Linked DNA regions of Homo sapiens: region 2 is linked to region 1. Evidence: promoter capture Hi-C in 16 types of primary human blood cells and fetal thymus (Javierre and others, 2016). All regions are on one chromosome and are shown on one strand. Each heading gives the region's core, a stretch centred on a gene start or on the middle of the fragment in contact. The rest is flanking DNA. Distances are from core to core; before and after follow the strand shown.

Region 1 (6,739 bases), core at 1,703-4,202:
TAATAAAATAAATAATATATGTATTGTTAGAATTAGATAGAAGGAACAAGTTCTACTATTCATAGTAAGGTGACTAGTTAATAATAACATTGTATATTTCAAAACAGCTAGACGAAACAATTTCTTTTCTTTGAGGCAATGGATATCCTAATCACCCTGATTTAATCATTACACATTATATGCATGTATCAAAATATCACACATACAGGCAGGGCATGGTGGCTCACGCCTGCAATCCCAGCACTTTGGGAGGCCAAGACGGGCAGATCACCTGAGGTCAGGAGGTCAAGACTAGCCTGGCCAACAGGGTGAAACCCTGTCTCTACTAAAAATACAAAAATTAGCTGGGCGTGGTGGCACGTGCCTGTAGCCCCAGCTACTTGGGAGGCTGAGGCAGGAGAATTGCTTGAACCTGGGAGGGGAGTTTGCAGTGAGCTGAGATTGTGCCACTGCACTCCAGCCTGGGCGATAGAGCGAGATTCCAACAAAAACAAAAACAAAAAAAACCAAAAAAATCACACATACTCCATTAATATGTACAAATTATCATGTATCAATAAAAAACTTCACCTCAGAATTTTTAATCTTGTTGGGAGAAAATAAGATAAAAATATGACAAGTCAAATGATTTTAAAACAACACAAATATTTCAAGATAGAAGATATGAGGTAGAAAGTAATCACTTATCAAAGGAAATGCAGAGAAAATACTGTTATTAAGACAAAGGAGAGAGAGAGAGAGATTAACACAAACTGGGCAGTCAGTGAAAGCTACATAGAAGATACAGTGGCTGAATCAGGTAAGGAGGAATGCAGACTCAGCAAGAGGACTGGGCAGGCCTTATGGAGAAAGGCAAAAAGGAAAAGAAACAGGTAACTAGATGTGTTGAAGAGACAGCTAGTCTAGCCAGAATGGAGGATTCAGGTAGAGAAGTTTTGAGAGATAAAGCTGGGAAAATACAGAATAGTCAAATTGTGGAGAGACCATAACTGCCCAACCAAAGGGCTTAGGTTTTCTACTAGGGGCTCACCATTTCTCAGCATATGTTCTGTGGACTACTGGCGTCAGAATCAACTGTGGTGCTTGATAAAAATGCAGTTTCCTGGTCCCAACCTGGACCTACTAAATATGGATCTATGTAGTGGGGCCTGGAAATTTTTATCTTTTTTTTTTTTCCCTTAACTCAGGCTGGACTGCAGTGGCACGGTCACAGCTCACTGTAGCCTTGACCTCCCCAGGCTCAGGTGATCCTCCCACCTCAGCCTCCTGAGTAGCTGGGACTACAGATAAGCGCCACCATGCCCGGCTAGTTTTTTGTTTTTGTTTTTTTGTATTTTTTGTAGAGACAGGATTTTGCCATGCTGCCCAGGCTGGTCTCGAATTTCTGTGGCTCAAGTAATCCTCCCGCCTCAGCCTCCCAAAGTGCTGAGATTACAGGTGTGAGCCACCATGTCCTGCTTTTATAATTTTTAAACAATCTTCTCATCTGATGTTTATGTACACAAACATTTCTGAATCATTGTTGTATGTATTAGGGAACTGTTCAACCGGTTTTATTTTCCCTTAAAGAAAGGGTGGTATGACCAAAGACAGTGATGTATACAAGATATAAGAAGGATTCAGGGCTACCGAAAAGGCACTGTAGAGTCTAGGTATGACCTGATAAGGATCTAAAATAGTACTGTTGACAGTAAAAACAGGGAAAAAGAAACTGATCCAACAATATGAAGGAAGGACCAACATGATTCAAAGTCTGATCAGGACTGAGAGGACTTAAATTAAAATGATGTGTTGTATACTAAGCCTCTGATATTAGAATGTTGCTATCATGAACAGAAACAAGAAGACTGTCACAGGCAGCCTCCTTTAAAGAAAAAATAAAGTTCTTTTTATTTCATTAATTTAATTAATTTTTAAGAGATGGAGTCTTGCTATGTTACCCAGGCTGGATTTGAACTCCTGGGCTCCACCAGTGATCCTCCTACCTCAACCTACCTAGTAGCTGGGATTACAGATATGTGCTGCCATATCCAGTTCTTTTTTTTTTTTTTTTTTTTTTTTTTTTTTTTTTTGAGACAGAGTCTTACTCTGTCTTCCTGGCTGGAGTGCAGTGGCATGATCTTAGCTCATGCAGCCAAGATCTCATGATCTCTGCAGCCTCCACGTCCCGGGTTCAAGCTATTCTCCTGTCTCAGCCTCCCAAGTAGGTGGGACTACAGGTGCATGCTACCCTGCCTGGTTAATTTTTATATTTTTAGTAGAGACAGGTTTTCTCTATGTTGGCCAGGCTGGTCTTGAACTCCTGGCCTCAAGTGATCTGCCTGCGTCAACCCTCCCAACGTGCTGGGATTACAGGTGTGAGCCACCGTGTTCAGCCCATACCTAGTTCTTAAAGTCTGTTTCAGTCATGTTAAACTTGAGGTGATGACAGGATGTTTGACAGTTGTGTGTGTGTGTGTGTGTGTGTGTGTGTGTGTGTATACACACACTACACCACACGAAAGCATTTTCTGTCCCATATAATCTAAGTTTACTAGATATTTTCTCAAATAATTGCTGCAGTTCCACAATTGTTACATTATCTGATCAGTATCCCATGGACTCCAAACTCACATTTTCAAATCAGTCTGTAGATTTCAAATAAGTCTTTTAGAGAAGATTTGAAATGGAAGATACCATTTCAAAACCTCTTTTGAATGACACTAAAGCATGTAGCAGGCCTATAGAATGAGCATACTGTCAAAAGGCATTAAGTGGAAAACCCTCCCTGCTCTGGAGGCGGGGATTGGTTCTACAAAGCCTCCTGTCATGCCAGTGGCCAACTAGAGAAGTTGGAGCTTTTTCGTTGTTTTTTTTTTTTTCCCTCCTGTGACATGTGCTTTAGTTGCAGTGGAAAGGAAATGTGTCATCTGTGGTTTGGTTTTAAAAGTGGAAAACTAGCTGCACATATCCTTTTTTACTGCAGATTTACTTTAAGGCTCATATTCTCCAAGTCTATTCTGCTTTAAAAAGAAGACAAGAAAAGAAGTGGTTTATCAAAATCACGTTATAATCAGATTTTGACCAAGCATTTTGTAAGGTAGGTCATATATATACGGCTTTTCTTATGCCTTTTCACTTCTAACGTCTGACAGATTAGTGTTCGAGGAAATGCTATCAAAGTGTGTAAGAATCTCACTAACAAACTAGAATTGTGACTGAAAATGTATACTTTTTTTTTCTGTCCTGTTACATAAATTTTAAGTTAGAAATGAAAAAATTTGCCATCGCCATGGAGTTTTAAATTAGGATTACGAAGGATCTAAGTTTGGTTTCCTCAAGTAAACTGGAAATGTTTTGTTATTTTTCAAAAGTTAAAAAATAAATTTCTCATTACTAATGCTTGGACATTACAAATTCTACTGAAAATAAATTCTACTGAAAATGATCAGATATAAGAAAACTTCTGATAACACAACCTGGCCTCCAAGGCATAAACTGGAGTAAAAACAGTCCTCAATTCTCAGGCATTTGTAAGGGCAAGAGAAAGTCTCATTTTGTCATACAGTTTGTTTATTTGGGCACTGCAGTACATCTGGCTGAAGACAATCAACAGCAGGCCTATTATCTGTTCCGTGGTAAGCACTGTTAAAATGTGTACCAATACTATGATGTATACTACACTGTTAATGAACTAATGTGAAAAGAATAATCTACTTTAAATCATTCTAGCATCTAATACAGAAGTCCAGTCTAGTATAAAAAGATGGAAATTACTTGCTAATCCAATTTCAAGTATTTCTTTTTGTGGAAGAATCATGAAATATCCAAAGATTTATGTCACTAAACTTAAAAATTAAAGCTGAACACTATTATACAAAAGCCAGTGACTTGGGCCTTTAATTGTCTACTAAAGGTCATAATCTAAAAAGTAATCTTAATCCTGGAATATTTAATAGTTTTTCCTCCCTACTATTAATATGAAATATAGTCTCCAGTTAGCATTGTTTATTACATGCTACTTTTGTTTGCATAACTCAACGTATCACATTTCTTATTTTCAATTTCTGTATTTTAATAGTATACAAATGTCAGCCAATGACATATAACAACCATTTCTTATAAAACCTTGATGTTCAAAAGCCTGACTAGCAGTGGCATCCATGTTGCTTAGGAGTTGGTTTGGAAACAAAGACTTTCAGGCCCTACCTATACTAGCTAGGTAAGAATCTGCCTTTTTTTTTTTTTTTTAAATAAAAGGACTCCTAAGTACATTTGAGAAGAATTTCTATAGCATACGTAGGGTTCTTAACCAGGCAATTTCATTTAGTAAATCTCAGGAGAACAATATAGTTTTGCTTTTAGTTCATTCAAATAAATGCTAACAATAAAATACTCCTTTCAAAAGTAGCTCAAGACAAACTGGTATATTATTATAAGATACCTTAATAATGATTATAAATCTTTCCTGCTGGGTTAGCAGTACATGGAACTGTTAAATTCTAAGATATGCCATTTCTATTTAAATCAATCATTTGGTAGATTTAAAAAATGTATAATATAACTTGTCTCCTTTTTGTACTAGTTTCCAGCAAGCTCAGGGCCAAAGCGGAAATTCAACATTTTCAATTATCTGTTGAGATGCTTATAACCTGCCACTTCATCCCAAATCATCAAGATCCTGATGCTCTATTTCTATTTTATTACACATTTTTTTTTACAATTATGTCAAAATCAGAAAAAATGCTAGGTATAAATGATGCTTTAAAAGAAAACCCAGCAACTTTTGTTGAACTTTTAAGTCTACTCAGAGGAAATTTGCTGTTTTTTTTTTTTTTTCTTCAGATTTTTAGGTTGAGAAAACTGGTATGCCTTTGCCTTCAGAAAGACACAGTCAGTCCAGGGAAATATAAATGAAAAGAGACAACCACCACAGTAAAATTGCGTTCACAAATACACTTACAAATGTATTTCTAAGTACCAGCTTTATTCTAAGCTTCAAGATGAACACCCAAGAAAAAAAAAGAACACCTTGAATTTCTATTTGAAGTTCAGTTTCTTTTGGTTGCTACCAAACTTCCCCTCTTTCCACCAAAAAAATTTGCATTTATTTCATACATGAAGCAAGAAGCTCAAGGCCACATTTCTTCTGTAAAGATTGGTGACAGGTTAGAGGGTGGGTAGTTTCTGTAAGAATGATCCTTAATTTTTTTTTTTTTTTAAAGAAGGAATCAGAAAAGTAAAAGCAGAACTAACTGACTCAAAGCAGAAGTCTAGCACGCTTCAAAGGAAGAAAACTATATAAAGCCATGATAGTCCACTTAAAATGATTAATATTTATTTGTAATGCTAACTTCTAGCATCTAAAAGTGTTAATAGAAATTAAAATGCTTCTTCATACATAGCTGAATAGAAAAGAAATTTAGTTGAGAAGGAATTCAGGGTAGCGAATATTAGGCATAAGCTTGTAGTTTACTTGTAACATCTCAACACTATCTTTTAACTACAATTACCAAAACTAGGATCCATTATTCTTTCACAAACTAACAAATTATATTGCTATCCCAACAGATTGCCAAGCATGCCCACGGACATGGAACACACAGGACATTACCTACATCTTGCCTTTCTGATGACAACAGTTTTTTCTTTGTCTCCTGGAACAAAAGCAAACTATACCCGTCTGTGGGCTAACAGTACTTCTTCCTGGGATTCAGTTATTCAAAACAAGACAGGCAGAAACCAAAATGAAAACATTAACACAAACCCTATAACTCCTGAAGTAGATTATAAAGGTAATTCTACAAACATGCCTGAAACATCTCACATCGTAGCTTTAACTTCTAAATCTGAACAGGAGCTTTATATACCTTCTGTCGTCAGCAACAGTCCTTCAACAGTACAGAGCATTGAAAACACAAGCAAAAGTCATGGTGAAATTTTCAAAAAGGATGTCTGTGCGGAAAACAACAACAACATGGCTATGCTAATTTGCTTAATTATAATTGCAGTGCTTTTTCTTATCTGTACCTTTCTATTTCTATCAACTGTGGTTTTGGCAAACAAAGTCTCTTCTCTCAGACGATCAAAACAAGTAGGCAAGCGTCAGCCTAGAAGCAATGGCGATTTTCTGGCAAGCGGTCTATGGCCCGCTGAATCAGACACTTGGAAAAGAACAAAACAGCTCACAGGACCCAACCTAGTGATGCAATCTACTGGAGTGCTCACAGCTACAAGGGAAAGAAAAGATGAAGAAGGAACTGAAAAACTTACTAACAAACAGATAGGTTAGTGAAGAAAAATGCAAAGTAGCAATGAGAAGGCTTATGGAGTAAAAATGAAGTCAGTTGGTATTTAATCCCAAAGTGTTGTTCTGATTATCTAAAATTTGACATGGTAGACCTTGCAATTTAGAATCAAGCAGGTGAGACAGGGAGAAGTATGCCTGCTTAATTATTTAAACTGTGTACTTTTGTTTTGACACTGAATATTTTAAAAAGCAAATAATAAAATAACTAAGCATTTGAGGAAAATTTTAAGGATAAATTGAGGAAACTGATTAATAGAGATAGCAAGGGATAATTAAATAAATATTCCCTATGTAGCAACAGTGGTTAGATGATCTTTGTCTGAATGTAATTAAACTTTGAATAGTTTTAGTGTGTCCTTAAAGCCAAGTATATGCTTTAACATCAAATGGAAGTCAAATTCCTAATGCATAGATAGAGAGAGCTAAACTGTGTAATTTAATGGTATCTTC
Region 2 (6,739 bases), core at 2,464-4,963, 540 kb before region 1:
GGCGATTTTTGATGCCCAGAGGTATTTTGTGTGTGTATGTGTGATGTCTGTTTTTAAAATGCTTTGGAAGCTCTTCCTGGTGCTGAGAACAACTCTTTTTCCCCAAGCAGTTAATTTTGCCAACACTATTTGGGCAGTTATGTTTCTCTCTGCTGATTTGTGATGTTACCTTTATTATATATTAAATTTCTATGAGTATTAGAGTCTACTTTAGAACATTTTTATTTTAAGCTTTTGTACTGTTTTCTTTTTCTTTCTGGTTTTTTTTTTTTTTAGACCAAGTCTCACTCTGTCGCCCAGGCTGGAGTGCTGTGGGGCAATCTCTGCTCACTGCACCCTCCACCTCCCGGGCTCAAGTGATTCTCCTGCCTCAGCCTCCCGAGTAGCTGGGATTATGGGTGTGTGCCACCACGCCTGGCTAATTTTTGTATTTTTAGTAGAGATGGGGTTTCACCATGTTGGCCAGGATAGCCTTGAACTGACCTCAAGTGATCTGCCTGCCTCGGCCTCCCAAAGTGCTGGAATTACAGGAGTGAGCCACCGCGGCCAGCCCCTGTTTTCTTGTCATTTGTTTTAAAATAAGAAAAAAATTCCTCTTTTTCCTGTCCCTTAAGTCCTGGGATGTTTAACATTCTTAATCTTATTTGGCACTTTAATTTTACGAAAGAGATATGTAGATTAGGGAGCAAAGAGGATAGTGGTAGTCTCCTTAACACAAGGCTATAAGGGTGGTCACCTGGGGTCATCACATCCCTGTATCTGATTCTCAATATTGCAGGTTATGAAAACACATCTAGCTAGTACACCTAGAGTTGCACTGTTAGAAACAGTAGCTCCAAGGCACATGTAGCAATTTAAATTTATTAGAATTATTCAATTTATTCACATTGGCCACATTTCAAGTGCTCAGTAGGTATATGGTTACTATATTGGACAGTACAGATAGTAGAACTTTCATTTCCACTTCCACCATTAAAGAACGTTCTATTGGACATTGCTGACCTAGAGGCAGTTAGCCTTGGGGATACTGACTCCTGTGTAGGAACATCTACATATAGAACAAAAATAATATCGAATATTGTGTGTCAGTTTTATGCTAAATTTTTTCAAATGCCTTTTGTGTTGTACAAACAACACAGTCTTTGAGGGGGATGAAGGAAGAGGGTCTCATGTCCTGATGTTGACGTGATTAGCACACCTTGAGCTGGTTTGTTATTAGAGGTTAGGCACTGTGGGGAAGGCAGGGAAGGCTGTCTTTCCAGTTGGGCTGTTCCCAGCTCAGGCCCTGCCTATCCCCAGAAGCCACCTTTCGAGGCAAAATGGGAAATAATTAGGTTGTCGGTATCAGGCGTTGAGCATGGAAATACAGGAATCCCGAATGTTCAGGATTATTATGAGTAAGCGTCGTGGCCTGTATTCTGTGTCCACTGCATATTGCAGTTTGTGTCTTAATCATCTATCTTGGTTTCTAATGGATTAACTTCAAAGACGATCATTAGCTCAAGGTGGAGGTCACTGGGTTGCTCATGTGTCTTACCCACGCGGGGTTTTGAAGCTGGAGCACACCCCGAGTGGCCGAGTAGGGTACGCTTGGCGTTTCACACGCAGCTAGTCGTGCAGCCTTAGGATATGCACCGAGAGGAGTTTCCAAAATCCGTCTCCGAGATTGTTTCAGATTTCGCGCTGGGAGGGAGGGGCGGGCTCCGCGAGGCCGCGCGCCCCGCCCCCTGCGCCGCCCCGCCCCCGCTTGCTCGTGACACCCCCGCGCCCCGCCCTCTTGGCCGGTACCCACCCCCTCCCCAGGCTGATTGGCGCTTCTGCGGCGGATCCTCGGGCGGGCAGCCGGGCCGGCGCGTCACGTGGCCCACGGCGTCCAGGGCGACCAGCCGCGGGCCGCAGGGCATGGACCTTCAGGCCGCCGGGGCCCAGGCGCAGGGGGCCGCGGAGCCGTCTCGGGGCCCGCCGCTGCCTAGCGCGCGGGGGGCGCCCCCCAGCCCGGAGGTGAGCGCCGCGTGGGGGCCAGGAGCAACAGCCAGCCGCAGCCTGGGGCGGGAAGTCGCGGGGCCGGGCTGGGCGGGGGCCGCGGGGCCGGGGAAGCGCCTCTGGCCGGCCTCGGGCCGCCCCGCGACACGGAGCGCTGTTTGGGCTCGCGCTCGAGCTGAAAACGGCCAGGCCGCGGGGCCGCGGGGCTGCGGGGCGGGGAAAGCCGAGGGCGTGGGTGGGCGCTCTGGGTCAGCAGAGACGGCTGTCCGCCCGCTGGGCGCCGCTGCGGATTTGGTAAATGGGAGGTGACGCTGGTGACCGAGAGCCGGGGCCCGCTGCCAGGAGCCTGGGCGAGGGCCAGGTGAGGGCGGCGAGGAGAGGGACTTGACTTTACAGACCTGTGGACCTCTGTCCGTTGGTGGGGATGCCAGCTAACCCTGAGCCCCAGATGTCACATGCGCGCTCCCCCTTCTCCTTACTGAAACCAGAAAGGCCCTGTTTGACGCAGGGTTTCCAGAAACTTGTTTTCATGTAAGCTAGACAGCTCCTGGTTTTCCCGAGAACGTTACAGACCGTTATTACAGTTCTTACCTGTCCTTGTTTACAGTCTGTACCGGCTAGGTGCTGAGCGGCTTGAAGGTAGGAACCCTCTGTTAGGGCTGTTTGCACAGCCTAGCATAGTGCCTGGCACAGGAGATAGACATACCGACTGGATGAATGATGCCTCAAAGATGGTACTTAGCCAAAGTAAGATATGAAAAATGCAGCGACACTTACAAAGAAAATTACTTTGGAGTGCAGAATAGAATGGGACTAATTTTGTCAGGGCATAGCAGGAAAGGATCAAGGTGAGAGGCTGGTGGTGTCTGCAGAGGCGTGGAGATGAGAAAGTGCAGGGCACATGGCCTGGAGTTGGGTCTCAGAGCATGCAGAGAACTATGCTCAACAGGTTGATGGGAGTGGGAGAAGAGGGGACGTGCGAATGCCATGGCTAATTTTGTGCTCTCTCAGTGGAGGGCTGTTGAAGGTTTTGAGCAGAGTAGTGATTAATTCTGTAAGGCTGGGCCAGATGGCTGGATGGGAAGGTGGTTAGGAGGCCGTGGCAGTGGTTTAGGTGAGAGGTCTGACTTCTCCTTGGGCGGCAGTGACCAGAGGTTGTCACTAACTACAGGGAGTGGAACTGAATTATTAAACCCAGACATGACTAGATAATGAATGCTGATTGGAGCAGGTGCCGAGTACAGTTTAGATGTAGCAGAAAAGATGAATTTAAATTCAAGAAATGTTACATTCTTGCCACATGCCAGGTGTTTTCATAAATGGTGTCTAATCATAAGTCCCCTGCAGGGTCAGAACAGTCACCCCTAATTTCTGGAGAAGAAAACTCAGGCACAGTAATTGAAGTGATGTGTTCAAGGTCACACTCTGAATGGATGGCAGAGCTGGGATCAAAATCAGGTCTTTTATGCAGGCAGGGAACATTTCGTGATTCATTAGAAAGAGGTCTTGGAGGTCATAGGGTTTCAGGAACTTCTGAGTGATGGGAGCAGAGAAGCATTTGGTTGGCTGTGCGGGAAGATTTTCAGTTAGATTAGAAATACTGCCTTCAGTGCTCAGCATTGCAGAGGAATTATAAAGCTTCCCCCACCTCAGTGTGTTGGTGAGGAAACAGAGAATTTGATAGAGTTGTTTACTAGCTATAAAGTTGTTAAGTAACTGAAAAGGTAAAACGTGTACCTGGGGGTGGCAACCGCAGGGAACAGCTACCAACCTATGGCTGAAGGAACAAAGAGATGAAGTTGATTAAAATTTAAAAGCTTAGGGAAAAGGCTCTGCAGAGCTGAAATTCCAACCTTTAAGGAGAAGGCACTGCCCCAGCTGATGGTAGGGGGTCTCTGAGCTTGGAGGAGAGTCCTGAGACCCAGACCTCTAAAGAGAAGGTGCAGTGATAAGACTGGCTCTGCAAGAGTTCGCAGAACTGTATACTGGATTCTGTGGCCACTATAGGAAGGCATTCCTGCTGCCACGGTGAAGTGTCATGAGGTGATGCCTACATGAATAGGAAGGAACAAGGCCCATCTCCCTCCAGCCTTGCTCAGTTTAACAGGGCAAAGTAGAAATGTGGGTGGCAGAGTCCCAGCCCTGCATCACCAAGGGGAGTATGGAAGAGTGGGTGGGGTTGAGATGCAATAGCTGAATACTGGGCATACCCCAGATACCCAAGTCCTTGGTAATCATTTCTTCTTCCTGCAGGCTGGCTTTGCTACAGCTGACCACTCCAGTCAGGAGAGAGAGACTGAGAAGGCTATGGATCGACTAGGCAAGTAGATGGCAGAGACGGAAGTTGGGGAGACCAAGGATGTGAGGAGAGGAATAGTCCCTCTGTCTCATTTACCTTCTCTTTTAGCCAGTCCTCTCTGCTGCTTAGTGGCCTTCTCTGCCCAGTTGAACAGTAACCTCCTTTGGAAGCCTTGCTTGGAGCTTCCTTAAGGGAAGTCCTGAACTTTTCTTATGTTCAAATCCATCCTTCTACCGAGAGAAACAGCTTGAAACGGTGAAAATAGTACAGCAGTCTCACCTTATTCCTAGGGGATACATTCTAAGACCCCCCCGCCCCAATGGATGCCTGAAACTGCTTTTTTTTCCTCCTATATATACTATTTCTGATATGGTTTAACTTATAAATTATGCATATGTGATTAATAACAATAGTAATATAGAACAATTATGCCAGTATACTGAAAGTTACGTGAATGTGTTCTCTCTCAAAATATCTTTTTTTTTTGAAACGGAGTCTCGCTGTGTCACCAGGCTGGAGTACAGTGGCACGATGTCAGCTCACCGCAACCTCCGCTTCCCAGGTTAAAGCAATTCTCCTGCCTCAGCCTCCCGAGTAGCTGGAACTACAGGCACGCGCCACCACACCCAGCTAACTTTTGTATTTTTAGTAGCTATGGGGTTTTACTATGTTGGCCAGGCTGGTCTCGAACTCCTGATCTCAAGTGATCTGCCCACCTAGGCCTCCCAAAGTGCTGGGATTACTGTGAGCCCACGCTCCCAAAGTGCTGGGATTACAAAGGCATGAGCCACTGTGCCCAGCCCCCTGCCGTTTTTTTTTTTTTTTGAGAGGGAGTTTTGCTCTTGTTGCCCAGGCTGGAGTGCAATGGCACAATCTTGGCTCACTGCAACCTCTGCCTCCTGGATTCAAGCATTCTCCTACCTCAGCCTCCCAAGTAGCTGGATTACAGGCATATGCCACCATGCCCAGCTAATTTTTGTATTTTTAGTAGAGATGGGGTTTCACCATGTTAGCCAGGCTGGTCTCGAACTCCTGACCTCACCTGATCCATCTGCCTCAGCCTCTCAGAGTGCTGGGATTACAGGTGTGAGCTACCACGCTTGGCCCCTTTTTTTCTTTTTCTTTTTTTTTTTTGAGATGGAGTCTCACTCTGTCACCCAGGCTGGAGTGCAGTGTCGCAATCTTGGCTCACTGCAACCTCTGTCTCCCGGGTTCAAGTGATTCTCGTGCCTCAGCCTCCTGAGTAGCTGGGATTACAGGCGTGCACCATATCGCCTGGCTAATTTTTGTATTTATTTATTTATTTATTTATTTATTTTTTGAGACGGAGTCTCGCTCTGTCTCCCAGGCAGTGGCACTATCTCGGCTCACTGCAAACTCTGCCCCCTGGGTTCACACCATTCTCCTGCCTCAGCCTCCCGAGTAGCTGGGACCACAGGCACCCGCCACCACGCCTGGCTAATTTTTTGTGTTTTTAGTAGAGATAGGATTTTACCTTGTTAGGATGGTCTCGATCTCCTGACCTCGTGATCTGCCCTCCTTGGCCACCCAAAGTGCTGGGATTACAGGCGTGAGCCACTGCTCCCGGCCTAATTTTTGTATTTTTAGTGGAGAGGGGCTTTCACCATGTTGGCCAGGCTGGTCTCAAACTCCTGACCTCAGGTGATCCGCCCACCTCGGCCTCCCAAAGTGCTGGGATTACAGGCATGAGCCACCGTGCCTGGCCTTTTTTTTTCTTTTAACTCTCACAACAACCCTATCTTCATTTTACAGATGTGGAAGTTGAGGCACAGAACAGTTAAATAAAAACAATTTAAAAATTGTGGTAAAAGATGCATAACCTAAATTTACCATGTAACCATTTTAACGCATATAATTCAGTAGCCTTTTAGCACAATGGCAGTGTTGTGCAACCATCACCACTACCTAGTTCCAGAATCTTTTCATCACCCTAAAAGGAAACCCTGTGCTCACCAAGTAGTCATTCTCCATTCCTTCCTTCTCTGAGCTCTTGGCAACCACTAATTTGCTTTCTGTCTCTGTGGGTTTATCTGTTCTGGATAGGCAAATGTGAGTTGCCTGTAAAGGGAATCATAACAATATGTGGCCTTTTGTGTCTGGCTTCTTCCACTTAGCGTATTTTCAAGGTGCATCCATGCCGTAGCATGTATCAGCACTGCATTCCTTTTTATGGCTGAATAATTCCATCATATGCATATACCACATTTTGTTTTTCCATTCATCCATTGATGGACATTTGATGTTGTGTCTACCTTTTGGTGATTGTAAATAGTGCTGCTGTGAGTATCCTTGTTTTATTTGAACAGCTGTTTTCAGTTCTTTTGGGTATATGTTTAGGACTGGGATTGCTGGGTCATATGGTAATTCTATATTTATGTTATGGAACTAGTTAAGTAAATTTCAGCTCAATCACACTTTTTTTTTTTTTTTTTTTTT

The links. The method cuts DNA at HindIII sites, captures the fragments that hold promoters and counts their contacts. A CHiCAGO score of 5 or more calls a contact.
Region 2: a fragment that was not itself captured here is called in contact with the fragment with the promoter of EVI2A in region 1 in 1 of 17 cell types (fetal thymus); the score reaches 5.0 in fetal thymus.

The regions. Positions count from the first base shown.
Region 1 is chr17:31,317,835-31,324,573 of GRCh38, reverse strand. It overlaps EVI2A (ecotropic viral integration site 2A), which reads left to right and starts at 2,952. Exons shown (of 2, transcript NM_014210.4): 1 at 2,952-3,079; 2 at 5,551-6,739. The coding sequence starts at 5,561. The coding sequence ends at 6,271. All of the region lies in intron 36 of NF1 (neurofibromin 1), which reads right to left. RefSeq lists enhancers at 5,804-5,863, 6,074-6,123. The HindIII fragment of the contact is 8,918 bases long and covers 1-4,977 here.
Region 2 is chr17:31,854,363-31,861,101 of GRCh38, reverse strand. It overlaps COPRS (coordinator of PRMT5 and differentiation stimulator), which reads left to right and starts at 1,858. Exons shown (of 4, transcript NM_018405.4): 1 at 1,858-2,001; 2 at 4,237-4,303. The coding sequence starts at 1,903. It overlaps UTP6 (UTP6 small subunit processome component), which reads left to right. Exons shown (of 19, transcript NM_018428.3): 19 at 1-198. RefSeq lists a silencer at 1,708-2,137 and an enhancer at 2,197-2,871. The HindIII fragment of the contact is 179 bases long and covers 3,624-3,802 here.